Linked DNA regions of Homo sapiens: all the other regions are linked to region 3. Evidence: promoter capture Hi-C in 16 types of primary human blood cells and fetal thymus (Javierre and others, 2016). All regions are on one chromosome and are shown on one strand. The core of a region is centred on a gene start or on the middle of the fragment in contact, and the rest is flanking DNA. Distances in the headings are between cores, read along the strand shown. Region 1 has its middle 30 kb from the start of C19orf12. Region 2 has its middle 48 kb from the start of C19orf12. Region 3 holds the start of POP4 (POP4 ribonuclease P/MRP subunit).

Region 1 (3,167 bases), core at 518-3,017, 140 kb after region 3:
GCACGAGAATCACTTGAACCCGGGAAGTGGAGGTTGCAGTGAGCTGAGATAGTGCCACTGTACTCCCACTGGGGCAACAGAGTGAGACTCCGTCGAAGAAAGAAAAAAAAAAGAAAAGAAAAAAGAAAAAAGAGATGCTGGGCAGGAGAAAAGCCTCCCTTGAGGGAAAAGAGAAGGAAAGGACCAACTGCCTTGGCCCATTCAGTGATCTGGCCATGAAACCAGGGGCTGGCTGAAATGTCATTGTCCAAGAAAAGGTGCTGGCTGTGCACAGTAGCTCATACCTGTAATCTCTGCACTTTGGGAGGTTGAGGCAGGCAGATTGCTTAAGCCCAGGAGTTTGAGACAAGTCTGGGCAACATAGCAAGACTCTGTCTCTACAAAAAATAAAAAAAAGTAGCTGGGTGTGATGGTGCACACCTGTTGTCTCAGCTACTCCAAAGGCTGGGGTAGGAAGATCACTCAAGCCCAGGATATTGAGACTGCAGTGAGCTATGATTGCACCACTGCACTCCAGCCTGGGCAACAGAACAAGACCCTGACTCTTAAAAAAAATTTTTTTTAAAAAAGAGAGGTGCTGGTGACCATGATAGACAGCGATTCAGAGCAGAGAGAGAGGAGGCCCAAATAGCTTAGTCCTGTCCACAGTGGCAGAGGAAATGGGAGAATTAAGGCAATTTCAATGAAAACAACAATTTTAAAAAAAATGCCCCACCCAATGCTTATACCTCAATTATCTAGATTTGCTCAAGCAGGAATTATCAGAATAACTTAGGAAAAGCTTCTTTTGGGAGTAAGGACAAGAGGGCAATCGTGGCCAGGCACGGCAGCTCATGCCTGTAATCCTAGTACTTTGGGAGGCTAAGGTGGGTGGATCACTTGAGATCCAATCATTTGAGATGAGGAGTTCAAGACCAGCCTGGGCAATAGGGTGAGACACTGTCTCTACTAAAAATACAAACAATTCTCCAGGCATGGTGGCACATGCCTGTAGTTCCAGCTACTGGGGAGCCTGAGGCACGAGAATCACTTGAATCTAAGAGCCTAGATGGTGCCACTGCACTCCAGCTTGGGTGACAGAGCAAGATCTGTCTCAAACAAACAAACAAACAAAAAAAACCAAAGGATGACTGACCTGTGTCAACATCCAGAGTTCCCATCTCAGCTATGTGCACAGGAAGGGCCAGTCTTTCTCCTTTACTCTCATTCACTCTACAGATGCCTACCGGGTACCTGCCAGGTGGGCCAGGCCCTGTTCTCACCACTGCTCTGAATGGTCACCACAGAGAATGGTCTCCCTCCTCTCAGGGAGCCCATGTTCTGCTTGGGGAAGGCAGCCAACAAGATCTAAAGCGTCGCTGAGTGACAGGGACATGTCCTGTGAAATGCATGGAGAGGTGATGTTGTCATTGTGTGGACGTCACAGAGTGCACTACACAAACCTGGATGGGGTTGCCTACTGCACATCTAGACTGCATGGTGTGGCCTGTGGCTCCTAGACCACAGACCCAGACAGCACGTTACTGCGCTGAATGCCGCAGGCAGCTGGAACCCAGTGGTTAAGTATCTGTGTACCTAAACAAATCTCAACTTAGAAAAGGTACAGTAAAAATATAGTATTATCATTGATGGGACCACTGTCACCACTGCACACTGCCTTTGACCCAAACATTATTCGGTGCATGGCCATCGATGATGGAGATTGCGATTCGTGTACTGGAGAAAATAAAGCGAGGTGGGCTGAGAGTGGGAGGCCCGCAGGGCAGGGCACTTTGGATCAGGTTGTCAGGAAATGCCTCCCCGAAGAGGGCGCATTTGCAATTAAAGCCAAGTGACAAGAAAAAACTGCCATGCACAGATCTGGGGTCTAGAGGGTGGGGCAGGAGGGACAACAAGAGCAAAGGCACTGGGGACGGAAGGGCTTCATGGGCAGTGGGAGCCCCACGGGAGCCCCCTAGGTCTGGCTTGCAAGCTCTCTGGCCCTCTGCTGGACACCCCAGAGCAAGCCAGCCCCTGCCTGGGACTCCCTGAACACACTGCCCCCAGAGAACCACAGGCAGAGGGACTGGCTCACCTGAGTTCCACAGGAAAGACAGACTGTCCTGAGAACAGACACTCGCTCATTTTCATCACTGTTCCTCAAACAAGTAGATTTTGTTTTAAAGCAAACAAATAAACAGCGTTGTCAAGTTGGTCAAGTTTGTTGTTTCTTACCCAAACTTCCCCTTTAAATCTTCGGCAGGACAGAGGAGGACCCTGGGCTTCTTGTCAATTCTCTGACTTCAAGGAAGAGTCTGATCAACCCAGGCTCACTCGCAGGCTTGAAAGGGGCCTCTAGCGAGGCCAGGGTGGGAGCAGAGACCGTAACAAGGCCTTTTTTTGTTGTTGTTTTTTGAGGCAGCATCTCACTCCGTCACCCAGGCTCAAGTGCAGTGGCACAGTCTCGGCTCACTGCAACCTCCGCCTCCCAGGTTCAAGAGATTCTCTTGCCTCAGCCTCCTGAGTAGGTGGGACTACAGGCCCATGCCACCACACCTGGCTGATTTTTGTATTTTTAGTAGAGACGGAGTTTCACCACGTTGGCCAGGCTGCTCTCAATCTCCTCACCTCAAGTGATCCACCCACCTCGGCCCCCCAAGGTCCTGGGATTATAGGCGTGAGCCACCGCGCCTGGCCATGTATCTTTTTTGTTATTTGTAATTGTCACTTGTCTAGTGTTTTGGTGCGCACATTTACAGAACGAAGCCTGCTGAAAAGCTTTAAAGTACAGCACACTAATGATTCCTGAGATATAGGTATAGGTCTCTCTCTCTCCCCGTTTGTCTGTCTGTCTATCTATCTATCTATCTATCTATCTATCTATCTATCATCTATCTATCTAATCTGTCATCGAGAGAGTGATTGTAGATAGAGGCACAGATACAGATACAGAAACTGGAAGCTATTTTCTGAAAATAGAGTGGCATCCACCACTGTGGTCCATGGTGATGCAGCCCTGCGGGTGGGTCTGGGGACATTAGCAGGCAGGGCAGGAAGAGTCTGGGAGCCAGGGAGCCTTCCCCAGACCTCTAGCATCCACCCCCAGGCTTTTCCACTGCACTGTCGACACTGAAGGTCAAGTTATGCCCCAGACTCCTACTGCTGGAGGGGCTTGGGCCATATTCCCA
Region 2 (3,423 bases), core at 35-2,534, 160 kb after region 3:
ACGGGGACTTAGTCTTAAGAAAAGGGGACTGGAGGTCGGGCACGGTGGCTCACACCTATAATCCCAGCACTTTGGGAGGCGGAGGCAGGTGGATCACCTGAGGTCAGGAGTTTGAGACCAACCTGGCCAACATGGTGAAACCTGTCTCTCCTAAAAATACAAAAATTAGCTGGGTGTGGTGGTGCATGCCTGTAATCCCAGCTACTCAGGAGGCTGAAGCTGTAGAATCGCTTGAACCCAGGAGGCAGAGGTTGCAATGAGCCGAGATCCAGCTACTGCACTTCAGGCTGGGCAACAGACCGAGACTCTATCTCAAGGAAAAAAAAAAAAAGAAAGAAAGAAAAGAAAGGAAAAAAGAAAAGGGGATTGGAAGCTTACAGCCGGAAGGGGAGGCACAGGCTGGGTGAAGTGGGCCAGGTGTCACCAGGAGACAGGGCAAGGGCTTCAGAGCGGGAGATGGGGCTGCGCTTCAGAACCCTGGGCTCTCTTGGGCAGTGGGGGCCTCACACCACAATCCCCAGCACTGGCCCCAAACAGGCGGCTTCTATTTCTTTCTGCTTTTTTAGAGAAGGAAAACTCATCCTGCTTCAGTATGCAGCAGCCAATAAAAACACGTTAATCTTTAACGTGTTAGCAAAACAGCCTCCAATTTGAATATCGGCTCTTCCTCCCATCTGTGGCAGTTTGCACAGATTTTTTTTTAGAGTGGCAGAATGCCTCATCTATGCACCAGCCGGTGGCAGGCGCCATTCACTGCCACAGAGCCTCCCCCAGGGCCGTGAAGGGCCCCCATCCCAGACCATGGCATGGAGTCCCGGCAGAGGGGCTCATCTAAGCTCTACCTTAGCACAAGAGGGCCCCAGATTTGAGGATTTTGCAGATCAGTAAAATTACACCCAAACCAACTGGGAAGGAACATAGGGATACCAGCTCATGATTTTGCCCAGGAAAGCCATTTGAGAGAAAAAATAGATGGTCATCCAAGAACCTCTTCAATTCACTGGAGAAATAAAATTTTGACATCAAAAGGGGGAGGCAGACAGAATGAAAGAATAACAGGTCTTCAAACTGAGCAAATTTAGGGAGACCTACCGTGTTGACTTTATTTTTATCATTTGGACGTTTAAAATAACCCTGGGGGGGTCAGGCATGGTGGCTCACACCTGTAGTCCCCACACTTTGGGAGGCCAAGGTGGGAGGATCACTTGAGGCCAGGAGTTCAAGACCAGCCTGAGCAACATAGCAAGACCCCCCCCCCCCGTCTCTAAAAGAAATTTTTATTTATTCATTTTTAATTAATTTATTTTATTATTAGTTGTTTTTTTCTGGAGACACAGTTTCACCCTGTCGCCCAGGCTGGAGTTCAATGGCATCATCTCAGCTCACTGCAACCTCCTTCTCCCGGGTTCAAATAATTCTTGTGCCTCAGCCTCATGAGTAGCTGGGATTACAGGTGCCCGCCACCACGCCTGGCTAATTTTTGTATTTTTAGTAGAGATGGGGTTGGCCAGGCTGGTCTTGAACTCCTGGCCTCAGATGATCTGCCTGCCTCAGCCTCCCAAAGTGCTGGGATTACAGGCGTGAGCCACCGTGCCTGGCCTCTAAAAGAAATTTTTAGATTAAAAAAAGAAGAAGAAGAAGAAAGCCCTGGGGAATCTGCAGACCTACCCAAGGGGGACAGTGAGTTTAGTATGCTAGGAGTGCCCAGCTAGATCCCCAGCCCGAGCTATTCTGGGCTCGCCTGCCCCCAGCCTGCTGCCCCCTCAAGAGAACCGTGACCAGAAACTTAGTCCTTGGGAAATATGCGCTACTGCAGAACTTGTCAAATGGCAAAGAATCAAGGAAGGAATAAATAGCAATATTTTATAAGTTTTAAAATGCTATTTTAACACAAATACCAGAGCAACTATAGCATAAATCAACAGAGACACCCAAAAGTATGTTTGTACAAGAAATGTAATAAGCTGGTATGAAAAACAGTGTCAACTGGTACAGATGGCAGAAAAAGCCAATATTCAAATGTATGCTGTTTTACTAACACATTAAAGATCAACATTTTGGTACCTGCTGCTCACGATAGCAGGATTAAAAAAACACACAACACACACATATCCTCACGCGTGATATTCTAACCCAGAGAATGCAAGATTCTTAAAGAAATTGTCAAGCACTTTCTATACTTCATCTGGTGGTTTTAAAGCTTCCGTGGTTCAGAGGAAAATTTGCATCTGAAAATGCGGCTTTTCCCCTAGCTGCCTGATGTTGGAGAAAATTAGAAAAGCAGGATGAGAAAATATCAGGGTTGTAGTCCTTAGAAGTCTCCTTCCAGATTAGTAATGGGAACAGAATTATCCCAAGTGAATGACTCTGGTGGTGCCTCTCCTCTCTGAGTACAGGACAGGCTATTTTTGTTTGTTTGTTTGTTTGTTTGTTTGTTTTTGAGACAGAGTTTCACTCTGTCACCCAGGCTGGAGTTCAGTGGCGCGATCTTGGCTCACCGCAACCTCTGCCTGTCAGGTTCAAGCGATTCTCCTGCCTCAGCCACCTGAGTAGCTGAGATTACAGGCGTGCGCCACCACACCTGCCTAATTTTGTATTTTTTTAGTGGAGACGGGATTTCACCATGTTGGCCAGGCTGGTCTCAAACTCCCGACCTCAAGTGATCCACCCATTTCGGCCTCCCAAAGTGCTAAGATTACACGCATGAACCATCATGCCCTGCCAGCACGGGCTATTTTTAAGATGCTTTCAGGCATTGCAGCTCTGGGGGCCCAAAAGAGCCCTCTGAGGTGTGCAGGCCAGGGAGCACTACCCGTACACTACAAATGGGCAAACTGAGGCTCAGACGTGGTGTACAGCTGACCAGAGATCACAGGGCCTAAAGGAAGCGTGATGGGCGTGCAGACCAGGCACACAATTGAGCAAAAAGCCCCCAGGAAACTCTCAACTGCCTCTTGTGGTGTCACCTCGTAAGCCCATGGGCCTGGGAATTGGGCAGCCCGAGTTCCAATCTTCACTCCCACCAGGCCCGACCTTAGGCAAGTGACCTCACCTCTGAGCCCCTACTGAGACACAAGATCGACAAAAACCTCCCCACAGCGCTGGCATGAGGATCGAAGGAGATGCAGTGGGTGAGCGTGGCCAGTGTGCATGGCAACTGTGATGTCATGCTCTGTCCAGAACAGAGACAGCCAGCCGCAGATGCTTTACTTGGCTTACCTAGTGTTTTTAAAAGTCTTTTGATTTGAGATGAAGTCCCATTCTGTTGCCCAGGCTGGAGGGCAGAGGCAAGATCTCGGCTCACTGCAACCTCCAGTTTCTGTCTCAAATAAACAAAACAAAACAAAATGCAAAATGTGCAAAATGGGACAGAAAGTGGAGACCTGCCTCAGCCTCCCAAGTAGCTGGAATTACAGGCACGCG
Region 3 (3,073 bases), core at 310-2,809:
ATGAGTGTATTAGCATCGCTCATAGCTCATTTAGCCATTACACAATGTATACACATTTCAAACCATATTGTATACCATAAATACATACAATTCTTATTGGTTAATTTTAAAAATAATAAAAGTTCTCTATCAGTCCCATAAATTACAATTTTCAGGCATCTGCAAAGGCAGCATGTTTTGGTTTAAATGTGGTCTTTCCAAATTTTATACGTATAAAATAAATGCATAAGTGTACTACATATGCAAAAACTAATACATAAATTTTATAAAGTCAATGCACGCGGGGTCACTGGGATGAACCAATTTCAGTGCCTGCAGTCTAATGTTTAAAATCAAAATGGTACAAGGTCACCACCAAAGAAATTGTTTAAGCCAATGTTTCTCAAACTAAAACCTTTGGACATACTCCCAGAATCCCCTGTAAAGAAATGTATACTGTACTCAAAGTTGAGAACCACTGACTTAGCATAAAGGGACCGTATTTCTTTTCTCTCCCACCCAGCACAGGCCCAGTGCTCAGCAGAAATTGGGGCTCCACAGTTCTGCCCAACACTGGGTCACTGCTGAGAAGTCTGCACCAGGCCTTCCTGCACCTTTCCACTGAGCAATGGAGTTTGTTTATTCATTTATTTATTTATATGGAATTTATTTATTTATTTTGGAGACAGGGTCTCACTCTGTCACCCAGGCTGGAGTGCAGTAGCGCAATCCAGGTTCACTGCAGCCCTAAACTCCTTGGGCTCAACTGATCCTCCCACCTCAGATACCCGAGTAGTTGGGACTACAAGCACGCACCACCACGCCTGGATAATTTTTTTTAAATGTTTTGTAGAGATGGGGTCTCCCGATGTTGCCCAGGCTGGTCTCGAACTCCTGGGCTCAAGAGATCCTCCCGCCTGCGCCTCCCACGGTGTGAGCCACCTTTGATCTTATTGCTATGATTTTTTTATTGATAAAAACTAATAAATATTCTGAGTCTCAAGAAAGCTTTCTGAAACTATCAAAGGGACCCAGGCGGCGCATCACTACCTGTGAGGCCGACCCCACTCACAGCACAGACTGCAAGTGAGGCTTACAGATGGGAAGTGCCCTAAGCGAGGTTAAACAGCTAGTTAGCAGCAGACACGGAACTAGAACCTAAGCCTGCTGTCCCAGCTTCGGTGCCCGTGCTCACAGCGGAAGCTGCCTCGGCTCATCCGTAAGGGCGCTGATTAGGGACGACAAAGACCTCACCCCACCGTCCCCGTCCCATTTCCGCCCTCCCAGATCCCCAACCTCCTTCGAGTCCTCTCCAAGTCGCCTCGCCTCGCTCCACTCCAGGCCTTAGCAAGCATTCCACATGCCTTTACCCCAACCCTACTGCCTGTCCCCCAAAAGATGCAGGCGGAAAAGACCCCAGGAAGCGAGCCCACTCCTCCCCACTGCTCAGCAACACCGCCTACGACGTTCTCAGTAGCCGAATCCCTTTCCAGGCGCATGCGCCCCCGAGGTGGGCGAGCGCCGGTGATGTCACGCATAGCGCCATCTCCGAGCTCCGAGAGTCTGCGACAGCAGCTGCCAGTGCGTCATCAGAGAGCGCCGGAAGCGGTCCGAGAATGAAGAGTAAGCGGGGCCGCGAAGTTGGAGAGGGTTGGGGACGTTAAGGGTCGGGGTCTTGGTACTGGTGGGTGAAATGGGTCCGGGCTACCTGTTGCTGCGGAGTCCTAACAGAACCGCTACAGGAATGGGCCCACCCTACCTAAGAAAAACTGAGGGCTGGAGCACGGGTTAGCCTGGCTCGACCTCTGAGCTAGGGAGGGATGTCAGGGCTGGAGGCAGGTTCTCCCGGAGGCTGCTCAGTGGTGTGCGATGCTAGAGGAGGGTTCCAGGCCTTGGCTCAACTTGGCCACTATCTCCCGGGGTGACCGCGGTCAAGATCCTGCTCCTTTCTGCGAGCTGGTTTCACACTCTTAACCTGATGCAAAGCGCCGAGAGCTGCTGGGGAATGATATCACTAACCCAAAGCTTTGGTCCTTAGGGGTAGAAGACATGTGCCAAGGAGGGGCGTGTAGACACCGTTAAGACTGGGCCTTCAATCAGAATTTTTATTTTTCATCTCTGCCACTTTCTACCTATATGATCAAGTAGATTGTCTCGGCATGTCTGAGCTTCAGTTTGCTCATGCACATAAGTGTAATGAGAAAAAATATGTGTACCTTGTAATGAGGTTTCTGGCAAGTAATGGATGTTCAGTAATTGTTAGATGTGTATTGTTGCAGAAAGACTTCCAAGTCTGTTACTAAGCACCTGTAACAGATGAAGCAAAGTTATCAGGCCCCGCAAGTTGCTCTCTACAGTTTATAATCCCCATCTTCCATTTGAGGGAGAACTAGATGCTATATATAAAACTTGCAACCACATTGGTTTGCTTGATCAAACAAACATACCTGGCTGGGTGTGGTGGGACACGCCTGTGGTCCCAGCACTTTGGGAGGCTGAGGCAGGGGGATCACTTGAGGCCAAGAGTTGAAGACCAACTTGGGCAACAACATAGCGAGACCCTGTCTCTACAAAAACTGGAAAAAAAAAAAAAGAATTAGCCAGGTGTGGTGGCACACACCTGTAGTCTCAGCTACTCAGGAGACTGAGGTGGGAGGATCACTTGAAACCAGGAGGTCGAAGTTGCAGTGAGCTATGATTGTGCCACTGCACTCCAGCCAGGGCAACAGAGCAAAACCCAGTATCAAAACAAACAAACAAACAACAAAAAAAAAAAACTTGTAACCACCTTGCATCAAACATTCTCAGGGAAGTACAAGAAAGCTGGAATTAAATTTACAGAGTATAGTGTAAATTACATTTTCTAGCTATTTAGCTCATAAACCAGGCCTTAGTAGTCCCATTCTTATTCCATTCACACCTGTACTCTGTCCCCAGTGCCATGGTTTTCTTCTTTCAAAAAATTAAGAAACAGAAGTGTGGAATTTATTTTAGAGGTTGAAACTTTATTGACCAATGTATATTTTGAGTTTAAAGGAAAAACTTGTATTTTATCAGTTCAGGACACCATCGATTATGTGACACATTATAATTT

The links. The method cuts DNA at HindIII sites, captures the fragments that hold promoters and counts their contacts. A CHiCAGO score of 5 or more calls a contact.
Region 1: a fragment that was not itself captured here is called in contact with the fragment with the promoter of POP4 in region 3 in 2 of 17 cell types (total B cells and naive CD4 T cells); the score reaches 5.8 in total B cells.
Region 2: a fragment that was not itself captured here is called in contact with the fragment with the promoter of POP4 in region 3 in 2 of 17 cell types (naive CD8 T cells and naive CD4 T cells); the score reaches 7.0 in naive CD8 T cells.

Annotation. Positions count from the first base shown.
Region 1 is chr19:29,743,500-29,746,666 of GRCh38, forward strand. No RefSeq gene overlaps it. Among named protein-coding and RNA genes, the nearest start is that of C19orf12, 30 kb to the left of the region's middle. RefSeq lists enhancers at 1,405-1,906, 1,907-2,406. The HindIII fragment of the contact is 1,976 bases long and covers 780-2,755 here.
Region 2 is chr19:29,761,369-29,764,791 of GRCh38, forward strand. No RefSeq gene overlaps it. Among named protein-coding and RNA genes, the nearest start is that of C19orf12, 48 kb to the left of the region's middle. The HindIII fragment of the contact is 1,827 bases long and covers 372-2,198 here.
Region 3 is chr19:29,604,724-29,607,796 of GRCh38, forward strand. It overlaps POP4 (POP4 ribonuclease P/MRP subunit), which reads left to right and starts at 1,560. Exons shown (of 7, transcript NM_006627.3): 1 at 1,560-1,602. The coding sequence starts at 1,596. RefSeq lists an enhancer at 1,213-1,702. The HindIII fragment of the contact is 1,017 bases long and covers 986-2,002 here.